2 separate regions of the Homo sapiens genome follow, and region 1 is linked to region 2. Evidence: promoter capture Hi-C in human tissues and cell types (Jung and others, 2019). All regions are on one chromosome and are shown on one strand. Each heading gives the region's core, a stretch centred on a gene start or on the middle of the fragment in contact. The rest is flanking DNA. Distances are from core to core; before and after follow the strand shown. Region 1 overlaps ACSL6 (acyl-CoA synthetase long chain family member 6). Region 2 holds the start of ACSL6 (acyl-CoA synthetase long chain family member 6).

Region 1 (5,685 bases), core at 716-3,215, 48 kb before region 2:
AACCCTGGGGGTAGAGGCTGCAGTGAGCCGAGATTGTGCCACTGCACTCCAGCCTGGGTGACAGAGTGAATATATTTGATATCTTAGATATCATAGAATATACTCATGATCTTTCTGACTTTAAATCTAAATAGTATTGAAAGGAAAATAAGTATAAAACTCCTCCAAATAACTGAATCCTAGTAACCTATATTAGTATTAGTACCATTAGTACATTTTTTTGCAGTACTCATTAATTTGTAAAGTTCATTTGCATATTAAAAAAATCAAAACAGGCCAGGTGTGATGGCTCATGCCTCTAATCCCAGCACTCTGGGAGGCTGAGGCAGGAGGAGAATCACTCGAGCTCAGGAGTTCGAGACTAGCCTGGGCAACATAGTAAGACCTTGTCTCTACTAAAAATTAAAAAAAAAATAGCTGGGCATGGTGGTGTGCACCTGTAGTCCCAGCTATTGGGGATGGGGAGGGAGGGGGAAGGGGATGAGGTGGGAAGATGGCTAGAGCCCAGGAGGGAGATTGAGGCTGCAGTGAGCCATGATTGTGCCACTGTACTCCAGCCTGGGTGAAAGAGCGAGACCCTGTCTCAATAATAATAATAGTAATAATAATTTTTAAAATAAAAATAAAAACAGTAGAAACCCTGAATCTTGCTCTAGTATTTTATCTCAAAAATCCTTGGAAGTAAGTAGAGCATAAGTGAAAAGGAATGGGAATGTTCATTAGTACTACTTCAGACAATTTACTTGACCTAATTACATTTTAACAAACTATAAGTAAGATTTCTCCTTTAAAAAGGAGTTTTCTCTCATGTTTTAAAATGCGGAGGAGAATCCTGGTGCCTGATTGGAGGTTAATGTTTAATCTGGGTTTTTCAGCATGCCCAGGATATGTGGGAGGGCTGAAGCCTAGAGGCCTCACCTTTAAGCTGTCCCCATGGACATAGATTTGCGCCACAGGTTGGCTCCGGATGTAGATGTTCTCAATCTTCTCGGGTGCAACATATTCTCCCTGAGCAAGTTTAAATATATGCTTTTTCCGATCAATAATTTTAAGAGTTCCTGCCTGTAGAGTTGGACAAACAGCTTTATAAGAACATGGCACTCTCAAGCCTGAACCTTTGCTCCTCAGTGCCGTAACTCCCTGCCCTACCCCACCCTGCAGACCCCACCCCGATTTCTTTTCCATCTGTTGTGTCTGCTCTTAGGGAGCTGCAGGGCTCCTGGAGAGAACCACTGTACACCGCAGGTTGATGGCATCCAAGTTCTGCTGGGCCGTGAGCATCCACTGTCCTTTCCCCTCAGCAGTTAGCCCCCCACACAGTCCTCCCACCACTGCCACCCTCATGCCTAGCAGCAGGTATCCTCACCTCCTCCTTCTTGGAGGCCCACCGCCCTTCCATCAGGGCACCCCTCTTGCACACACCCTTGTTCCAGGTGCCCTTTTTCTCACCAGCATCTTTGGTTCACTCCCTTAGACCACACTCAAGTCTCTTGCCCAGCTACTGTCTCCACCCCTAAAGAGCAGCCTCTGCATCCCCTGGCATATAGCACAGACCTGACAGAGCCCCTGTGACTCCTACCTGACATGCCAGATGGCACTAGGAGCCCAGGCCCCTGTAGGACTTCTGCAGCAGGCAGATCACCTCCTTGGACAGGGAGTGCTGATGCCACTGGCCTCCAGGACCCGTCCTCACCTCCCTGACTCTCCTTGACCTTTCTGAGCTTCCAAGGTGATTACGTGGGCCTCTTTCCCCTCACCGCCACTGACAATGCACCTTGGAGTAACCACCGTTTTCTCTTCATTGGTCACTCCCAAGTCAGTTCAAGCTTCCAGCTCTTCACTGAGCTCCAGATCCAGAACCCAAATACCCTTGGAATGCTTCAAAAACTAGGCTATTTGTCTCAGAGGATGTAACATGCTCCTATATGAAACTCACGACCAAGCTTCTCAAGCCTGCCCCAGCCTCCAAACCCCAAACCTGGAGATGACCTTGTTGTTTGCCTCTCCTGGGATCTCCAGTGGTCAGGCTCACCTGTCCTTGCTCACAAATCCATCTCATATCCACCACCTCCTCCCAGCAAAACCACTTTCTGACTGGACTTCTGCACACACTCTGTCTCCACTCCATCTGCTTGATCTGCCAGTGCCAGAGCAATCTCTCCAAAAGAGAAAAATGAGCAGACTCTGTTTTGCTCAAAACCCAGGCTAGACATCAGGCACTTTCCCTACCCCAGCTTATTTGGTCCTCATGGTCCATTAGCTGGGTGTTGTCACCTCTGTTTCACAGATGAGGAAAATGAGGATCAGAAAGCTTAGTTAACTCCTCCAAAGCCACACAGCTAGAAGTTGGGGAACCAGGATTTGAATCCCGATCCTTCTGGACCAGAAGACTATGCTTATTCCTTGATCTATTTAACATGATTTCAAAATAACGTTTTTAAAAGCACAAATGTCTTTATAGATGATTTCTACCTAAATTTCAAGAATGAATCATTCAAAGCTTGAACATACTCTTCCAAAAAAATGGGGAAAAAACCCACTTACCAACTCATTCAATAAGCTGACAACAAAACCATAATAGGGTTGTATATAAAAGGAAAATTACAGATCAATCTCATTTGTGAATATAAATGGAAAGGTCAAACACAATTTTTAGGAAAAATATTATTTAAAAAGTCACATCATGATTAAGTTGAATTATGTCAAGAATGCATGATTTGCTTTACATGAGAAATATAGAATAATAAGTATCTCAATAGCTGCAATAAATTTTAATTAAATTTCAAAAATCATTTAAAAATAATAATTTAAAAAATGGACTCTCACAGACTACCTGCCTGCAACTTTAGGCCCTGTGCTCAAGCACAACACTAAGTGCTTTACATGAATTCATTTATTTGCTTCATATTACCCCCTAAATGGTGAATGGTTTCATTCAAGTTACAGGGCATCAGCAGCAGATCCAGGGATTTGTGAGACTTCAAGCTTTTACAATATTGAGGGCCCTTTCTAAGAAAAACCAGGTAAAATGAAGTGCAGGGCCTTGGAAGGGGCTGATGCAAGTGAGGGGGCTTGAAGCCTAAGCTCCCTGAGCCAACAGGACAATCCACCTTCTGCAGATGTTCAGGACCTGCTGACCTCTCTAGCCTCTCTCTCCCACACCTATGGGTCTTCAGTTGGAATTAGTTGCTTCCCATGTCTAGTGCCTCTACTCAGCATATATTACTATCACGCCCTGATTGTCCTTCCCAATCCCACCTTTGGAACATGACTCATATCCTAAGGCTTGGATGCAGTAGGTGCCTGTCCTCCTCTGCCTCTCCCGAGGTGAGTGTGCCCCCAGTGTGCCCCCAGCTCATGCCCATCACATTGGGTTGGGAACTGTCTAATCATGCATATCTCCCCTAAGCAGAGTCCCTGGGCCAGGGCACTCACTGGAGATACATCTTTGTCTGGGGCAGGCATGAGGGTTTCTCAAAGGGAAGTACACAGGCCCAAGCAGGGGCAGATCCATTTACCAGCCCACTCAGCCTGCCTTGGGCTCAACATCATTCACGTGCCTCATTAACTCAACACCTCAAAATGTCCACCCAAACCTTAGCACTTCCCAAAGACACAGGAGAGTTTCCTGGGGTGGGCTGCTCCAGGCAAGAGTGCTCAGTGTCAGTGACAGCCGTTTTCTGGTCAAAGCATTCATCTAAGCATCTCCTATGTGCCCGGTACTGTGCTAAGTGCTTTGTAGGCATAATCTCATTTGTTCCTCACAAAAATAACTTTATTTTTCTTTCTTTTATTAAAACATTTTTAAAAGATAAAATCCAGGCTGAGTGCAGTGGCTCATGCCTGTAATCCCAGCACTTTGGGAAGCCGAGATGAGCAGATCAGTTGAGGTCAGGGGTTTGAGATCAGCCTGGCCAATGTGTTGAAACCCTGTTTCTATTAAAAATACAAAAAAGTTAGCCAGATGGGATGGCGGGCACCTGTAGTCCCAGCTGCTGGGGAGCCTGAGGCAGGAGAATCGCTTGAACCTGGGAGGTGGAGGTTGCAGTGAGTCAAGATCTCGTCACTGCACTCCAGTCTGGGTGACAGAACGAGACTCCATTTCATAAATAAATAATAAAGGATAAAGTCCAGATCTTGCACAACACAACAATAATTTCAGAGGTAAGCAACACTGTGATCCCTATTTTAAAAATGAGAGAATGAGGCAAAGTGGTTTTGGCTAAAAGCTGGGGGCCATGGGCAAGGAATGCTATGAAGGCTTGTTCTCCTGTTCTATAAGTGAGTCAAGGTGAAGCCACAGACGGGGATGAGGCTCTGCTCAAGGTTACATGAGCAACTGCTGGCAAAGCCACAGGAACTAAGGCATTCTCCCTCCTGTCTCCAAGCTTTCCCCTTCACTCAGTGCCACCTTTTGGCTGCGGGCCAGCATTGGAGGGCTTGCAGGCCTTGCCCTTCTCAGACGTCCTAGAGACATGTACCCCCTGTTCCTCCTACTTCACATCAGATTCCACACACTGTCAGATGTCTTTCTGGAAACCATTAAGGATAGGAATTCAGTCTCCAAGACCTCAGCCACACCCACCTGCACAGGTCCCTCATCACCTTCATGAGACGGAGTGAGAAGAGGAAGATGCTCTGGGGCTCAGGGAAGGAAGAGCCTCCCCCCAGGCCCCAGAGGTGCTCCTGAATGACTCATTGTCAGGGGGGATTTGGAGAAGACTCCTGCCTCAGTGACCCGGACCACACACCCTCCCACTGCCAAATGTTTGGAGCTCCGTGGTTCCAAACATACACACCGGCAGCCATTTTCCGATGTCTCCAGTGTGAAGCCAGCCATCGCTGTCCAGGGCCTCCTTCGTCCTGTCTGGATCTTTCAAGTAGCCTTTGAACACATTTGGTCCTCTCACACATATCTATGGGACAAAAACCATGGCTTCTCTCAGCCACATCATGAGGAATCAGGAGATGGGAAGCTGTCACCAGGCATACGGAGATAAGGTGCACTACCCATCAGGAAAGCCACTGTGGATATGGCAGGGATGGAAACAGAGGACAAGGAACAGCCAGCAGCCATCTGAACTGTCTCCTGCCTTCTGTCAAGCAACATCCTCCCCATCTTTCCCCCCTGCCCTGGCCACCCTAGGCCTTTGTCATCTCTTCTCCCTCAGGAGCCCTCTGGCCTTGGCCACATGCTGCTCTGTGACACTTGATGGGGACTCATCACAGATATTGATGGCTGGCTGATTCTACCAGGGATGCTTCAGCCCCCTGCTCCATTAGCAGGCAATCATTCCCACTTACTCCCATGGAATGAACAAGTACAGGCCAGCTCTATCTACTCCATCTGGCCTATTTGTAAAGGATCATGTTTCTGCTGGGACAGATCACACAGCAGCAGGCCATGACACAGTTAGGGGAAAAAATGAATTTTTACAAAATTTGGGGCTGGGCATGATGGCTAGCACCTGTAATCCCAGTGCTTTGGGAAGCCGAGGCAGGAAGGATTGCTTGAGGCCAGGAGTTTAAGATCAGCCTGGGCAACACAGCAAGACCCAATCTCTAAAAAAAAAATAAAAAGTTATCTTGGCAAGGTGACACATGCCTGTGGTCCTAGCTACTTGAGAGGCTGAAGCAGGAGAATTGCTTGAGCCCAGGAGTTCGAGGCTATGGTCTCGAGTTCAG
Region 2 (5,559 bases), core at 1,866-4,365:
ACCCTCCTGGACTCCACTCTCTTCCTCTTGACTCAGCAGCTAAATGGAGGGATCCTCTACCATCCAAATAAAACCTTCTCCAGAATCCTCTCCCACAACCCACATTGCTCAGGCACAAGACCTTGAAGACTCATCCCCCATTGCAGTTCTTCCACAAACTCTGCTAGTCTGGCTTCCTCCACTTGGATCTTGGCCTCCCTATCTCTGACAAATTCCCCTGAATGCTGCAGAAGCCCACTCATATGTCACTGATGGTTGGGTATATGATTGAACAGATTAGACCCTGCGGCATGGGGCTGCCTTAGCCTAGAGGAAGGTGTGCCCTTTTAGAAAGTTATCCACCAAGAGTGAGACTTCTTCCTACTTTGCACAAAGGTGCTGTACAGGCAGGCAGAAGCTCTGATCCTCTGCTCCCATTGTCCTCTAGGTGTTTATGGCACTGAGGGCATGCTTCCCCAAGCCAGACCTAGCATCTGACTCATGCTGGACTTATTTTACTTGTCTCCTTGTTTAGTATTCAACACACAGGTGAGATCTGGGCTGGCCCAGGACTCATTGCTGGCCTCTCCAGCAGGCAACAGGACAGACACAGCCCAGAACAGATGGCTACCTCCCACAAACAACAGTCAGCTCCTCCTCCTGGTGCATTGCCACACCCCCATCCCCGACTTTATGTCATCTCTCCCTGAGGGCCCTTGAGGGAAACCCTTGCCTGGCCCTACCTTGTCTCCCTAGGGCCAGGTTAGGTGGCAAAAAGCACATAACTCTACTAAAGAGAGACATTGCCTCCTGTTACTGGCTGAGTGGAAGGGATCTGGCAGCTGCCGTGGGACCATGGGACCCTGGAGATGACAAGGCAGAGCATGTTCTCAGGTGTGCTCACAGAACTACAGCTCTTAACTCAGGAGTCTCTTCTGCCACCAGAGAAAGGCTGGGGGCCAGGTGGAGTCTCAAGGAGGGTGGATACATAACTTAAAATGCCCCAGCAATTGTCTGGGTTATTCTATCCAATAAGCACCATAGACCAGCCTCAGCCTCTTGCTTTTTGCATTGGGAAGCTCGGCCTCTGTGGAAGCAGCCACTACCTGCCCCAAGAATCGCTCCTGCTTGACGGTTCTGAGGCCCTGTATAGTCTCTCAGTGAGGCAGATTCCCCAGTTTCCCATTAGAGGAGGGAGCTGACCACTTTAGGAAATGCTCCACAAGGAAACAGGACTCCACTTTGAGTCAGTGCCAGCTAACCCTGCTCACAGACAAGGACCCCACAGGGTGAGGGACTTTTTCTCACAGGCTGCTGATGACCCCGGTCACAAGTGGTCTTGCAGCCCCTAGACACCTCCCTGCAGCCACAGAAGATCAAGTCTTCAGAGAGCTGACCTTGGACCCATGGTTGGGTGGGGCCTCCTGAGGGTAGGGCAAAGGGGTCCTGGCAGTGGGGAGAGGCTCTGAGACCATCCATCACTCAGGCATTAAATGGTGGCTGTTACGACCACCATCACCATTATTTTAATTATCCTTGCCCTTTACCTCCAACCCCAGCTCTAGCCCTGCCCTTGTCTGCTGGATGTGCCTCAGGACCAGAGTGCCCCTGCACAGCCAGTCACAGACACTGGCAGACAGAAGGAGCTTAGGGAGCTGAGGGGATTAGGGAGGCTTCACTCACTCTCCCAGCTCAGGGGAAGTGTCCCTGTGGCCTAACTTAAGGAAATGGTGGGGGTGAAGGAAGTGATTACTAGGCCCACCAACCCTCCAGGTTCAGGCCTGATCCAGCCAAGCACTTAGCATTGGTTGATCAATTAAAACCTCGAATGGAATCCCAGTCTGCCAAATATCCATGTGACACTAGGCAAGTCAATTGACCTCTGAACTCAGTAAAAAAAGGGATGGTGCCACCGACCTCCTAGGGTTTTCCATGAATATTAAATAACACGTACAAAGCCTCAGGTAAAGATTTCAAGAGGGTCAACTTCCTCCCCTTCCTTGGCTCAGAAAAAGCTTTATTACCACTTCTGATGGTGCTGTTTGAATGTGAGATAATAATAAACACTAACATTCATAGAGCATTTGCTGTGGCCTAGGACAGGTTTAAGGCCAATTTAAGGATCAAGCACTGCACACAAATTATCAGGCTGAATCTGCACATGGGGGTTGGGGTGGAGGTGGAGATCCTTTAGTGGTATTATACTCTGGAGGACCCCAGGCTCAGAGAGGGGAAGTAGCCGGTGCAGGTGGTAGAACTGGCAGATAAAAGGGCCTGTGGTGAGACTCCAGGTGTGGGTGTATGGGGGGTTGAGGGAGGTAAGCGCGGAGGCGGGATCGAGCAGGGGTCCTTGTAGCCGCCTAAGAAGTGCAGTGGTGAAGCTGACTCCTGTGAGGTGGAGGGGAGGGGTCTGGAAACAGTGGAGACACAGCAGCCCTGGGCAGAGCAGAGGAGCCAGGTGAACCCTACCTTACAGAAATCTTGTACTCTGGCTGAAGGACGGGCAGGGAGGGGTCGTGAGGAAGCCCCTCGCCGGGATCAGGAAGCCTAGGTCAGTCCGGGTTACATAGCTGACCTGCTGTGGGACCTCGGGGACCAACACCCTCGGTTTCTGGTCCCAGGAGATGGACAAGGACGCAATGTCTGTTCCTGGCCTTGGCTCAGGGCCTAATCTGATCCGCGGATGGTCCTTGCCATCAGGGAAGGGGGACGCAAGAACTCGGCGGGGGTTTGTGGTGGGGTCGCAGAGAGCAAGCCCTATATCTCCCTCCGCAGACCCAGGTGCTCCCCAAACCCGGCCCGGAGCCCGCGAGAACTGGGGGCGGAGGGTGTACTTAGGCGGCCCTGGGGACCTTGACGGGACAGCTCAGCAGCAGGGGATGGGGGCTCGGCGGCCGCGGAGATGTAACACCTCCACCTCGGGCGAAGACCTCATAGCCTGCGGGAGATGGGAGTCCGGGACGCGGACAGGACGGGCACTTACCTACGAATAGCCAGAGGGAGCCCCCCGACACGAGGAAGAAGGTCAGCATGGCGGTCAGCGGGGCCCGGCCCGGCCCGGCCCGGCCTCCCCGACCCGCAGCCCCGCAGCCCCGCAGCCCAGCAGCCCCAGCAGTAGCCGCGCCGCCGCCGCCGCTGCCGGGTATTTTTAGCCCCCGCCCTCCGGCCCCGCAGCTCCCGCCTCCCCGCGCCGCTGCGGAGACGGCTCAAGGGGGAGGGCGCGGCGCGCACTCGCAACCGAGCCTTACTCCCTGCCCTGCAGCCTGGCCGGCCGGGTCTGGGGCTTGCCCCGCACTGACCGCGGTGTCGGAACCGCCAAGCTCCCGGGCGGGGGAGGGGCCCGGCCGCAGAGCGAACCAGCCCTCTCCGGCCCCGCTCTCCAACGTCAGTACCTGGCATTCTGCGGAAACCGGCTGGAAGGGGGAGCACGGGCGACGAGCGCCAGAGCGTGACATTGAGCCCACCCCGCCGCCACCCACCCCATCAACACGCGACCCTGCCCCCGCGCGACTCGCAGCCTGGGTTTTATGGCTGGGCAGGCTCGAATGGCAGCCGGGTCGCGGTTACCTGTCCTAGGAGGTGCACACTCCTGTGGGCTGTTGCCCGCTGACACCAACGCCCCCTAGGACCCGAGTTTGCAGACATGGGGAGCCTCCGGGTGCCACCTCTGCAAACCAGTGAGGGGAGGGAGTGGCAAGTGTTCACCTAGGCTCTGACAAATCAGGCAGCTAGACCAGATAGTGCCCAGATCATCTGGGGACGCACGAGTTCAGGTCTGAGGCTACGCAAGGTCACAGGAGACTCAGTGTGATCACAGGCTGCCATATGTGTTCACCAGTAGTAACATGGTCACAGGCAGCCACATGGAATCACAGGTGTCTCATGAGGAAATCATGATCTTCGTACACAACTGTATGTGGCACACGAGGTCTCAAGAAGCCCCTCATAGCCACAATAAATGGCCATATAGCCACACACAGCCACAGATGCCCACACTGCTGGGCTGAGGGCTTGGACACCTGTTGCAGTGTCTGCCATTGAAAGGAGGAAGCCCAGTTGCACATTTTCTGAAATAATAAGGGTAGGCATCCTGGTGGGCACCCCATGAACATCTGCACCTCCAAGCAAGATCACCTCTTCCCAATGCCCTTGCTTGTTTTCCTCAAGCATGCAGAGCCCACCAGGACTCCAGCACCGAGGACAGCGCTCAGGCAGCCGGGCCTTCTCTATACGCAGCCCTCCCAGGCCAGGAGCTGGCTGAGCCACAGCCCAGAAAGAAGAGGATAGAAAACCAGAGAGCAGAAGTCAGGAAGCAGAGAGTGGAAGAGCATGAGATCTCTTCAGGCCCACCAGAGACCATCAGCCATGAGTGCATGTGGGCTCACAGCTCAGCAGCTGGGTGTGTGGGGGGGCCTGTATCTGTAGTACGAGTACATGGCATGTGTGTGCCCAGGCCTGTGTGCACCTTGTAGTGGTGCAAGTGTGCAGATGTGTGCCTCTGAGTCACTTCCAATCTTTACAATAGGATCCTACACCTTCTCCATCATAGGATCTGGACTCCTGGGAGAGCTGCTCCAGCTTGAACTCAGCCACAGCCTGGCAGGGACTTTGCTGGGATCTCAAGCTTGGCAGGGCTCCTCCAAGAGGGTGTGACAGAGGCTGTATGGCAGGACTCCTCCCAGCAAGTAACATGGCTTTGAGAATCCCCCCACCCCACCCATACACTCCCACTGGCAGCAGAGTAACTGGAGATCTGCTAGTACTGAAGAGGAGACCCAGGGGAACCAGAAGCCTGGGCAGAAAGAACATATCTCCCCAGACCAGATTGGTCTAGGGAGGTGGTCAGGTAATTTCCCCATAGGCCAGTGGTTCAACAGAGCATTTCTTCACAGAGCAGGGGGCCAGGAGCCAGGCTGCAAGCCTCAGGCCTCTGCGGCACTCAGCTGCAGGAGCACTCCGGGCCCTATGCGGCTCTGGCAGCCTCCTCTTCAGAGTGATGTCATGGGACACATTTAGCTTGGCCTCCAGCAGGATGTCGCATCCCGTTACTCTCCCTACAGATGTCTCTGCTACTTGTGAATATTTTAATTCAAAAACCAGTACTGGAGCTGTGACTGATTCTAGCTTAGCCAAGTATTTTTCTGTTTTCCTCTGAGCATGGCTTGGCTTCCCCTGAGAGATGGGGACAGAAAGGCCCTAGCCTGGTTGTGGGATCATGGCCAGGTCTCTCTCCTCTCTAGGCCTGTTCCTTCCACTGAGTAATGGGACTTGTTCTTTCCTGTCCTGAGTTCCCAAGGTCTTCTTCCTTCTCTGTGAGTCTCAATCTGTGGACCATCTGCAGGCATGGGTAGACGCTGTGACTCAGGCCCTAGACTGCATGGGTGTGGCATCCATGGAACCCAGGGCCCAGAAATGCCCAGGCCAGGCTGGGGAGCCCTTGGATATCCCTCTTGGTCCTTAGCCAGCAAATCCAGCCACCTTAGCGGCCAGCCATGTTCACACATATCTCCTCCCAGACTAGCATCTCTAAGTGGGTTGGCAGGCAGGAGCCTAATCATCTATTTGCAGCCCTGGCTTGGG

Evidence for each region. The method cuts DNA at HindIII sites, captures the fragments that hold promoters and counts their contacts. A contact is called where the count stands out against the background at its distance.
Region 1: a fragment that was not itself captured here is called in contact with the fragment with the promoter of ACSL6 in region 2 in 1 of the 25 tissues and cell types used here (aorta).

What each region holds. Positions count from the first base shown.
Region 1 is chr5:131,961,617-131,967,301 of GRCh38, forward strand. ACSL6 (acyl-CoA synthetase long chain family member 6) reads right to left here. Exons shown (of 21, transcript NM_001009185.3): 17 at 4,800-4,916; 18 at 919-1,062. Among named protein-coding and RNA genes, the nearest start is that of MEIKIN, 19 kb to the left of the region's middle. The HindIII fragment of the contact is 3,442 bases long and covers 245-3,686 here.
Region 2 is chr5:132,008,543-132,014,101 of GRCh38, forward strand. ACSL6 (acyl-CoA synthetase long chain family member 6) reads right to left here and starts at 3,116. Exons shown (of 21, transcript NM_001009185.3): 1 at 2,963-3,116. The coding sequence starts at 3,011. It overlaps LOC124901062 (a long non-coding RNA gene), which reads left to right and starts at 2,914. Exons shown (of 2, transcript XR_007058933.1): 1 at 2,914-3,003. The HindIII fragment of the contact is 8,903 bases long and covers 1-5,559 here.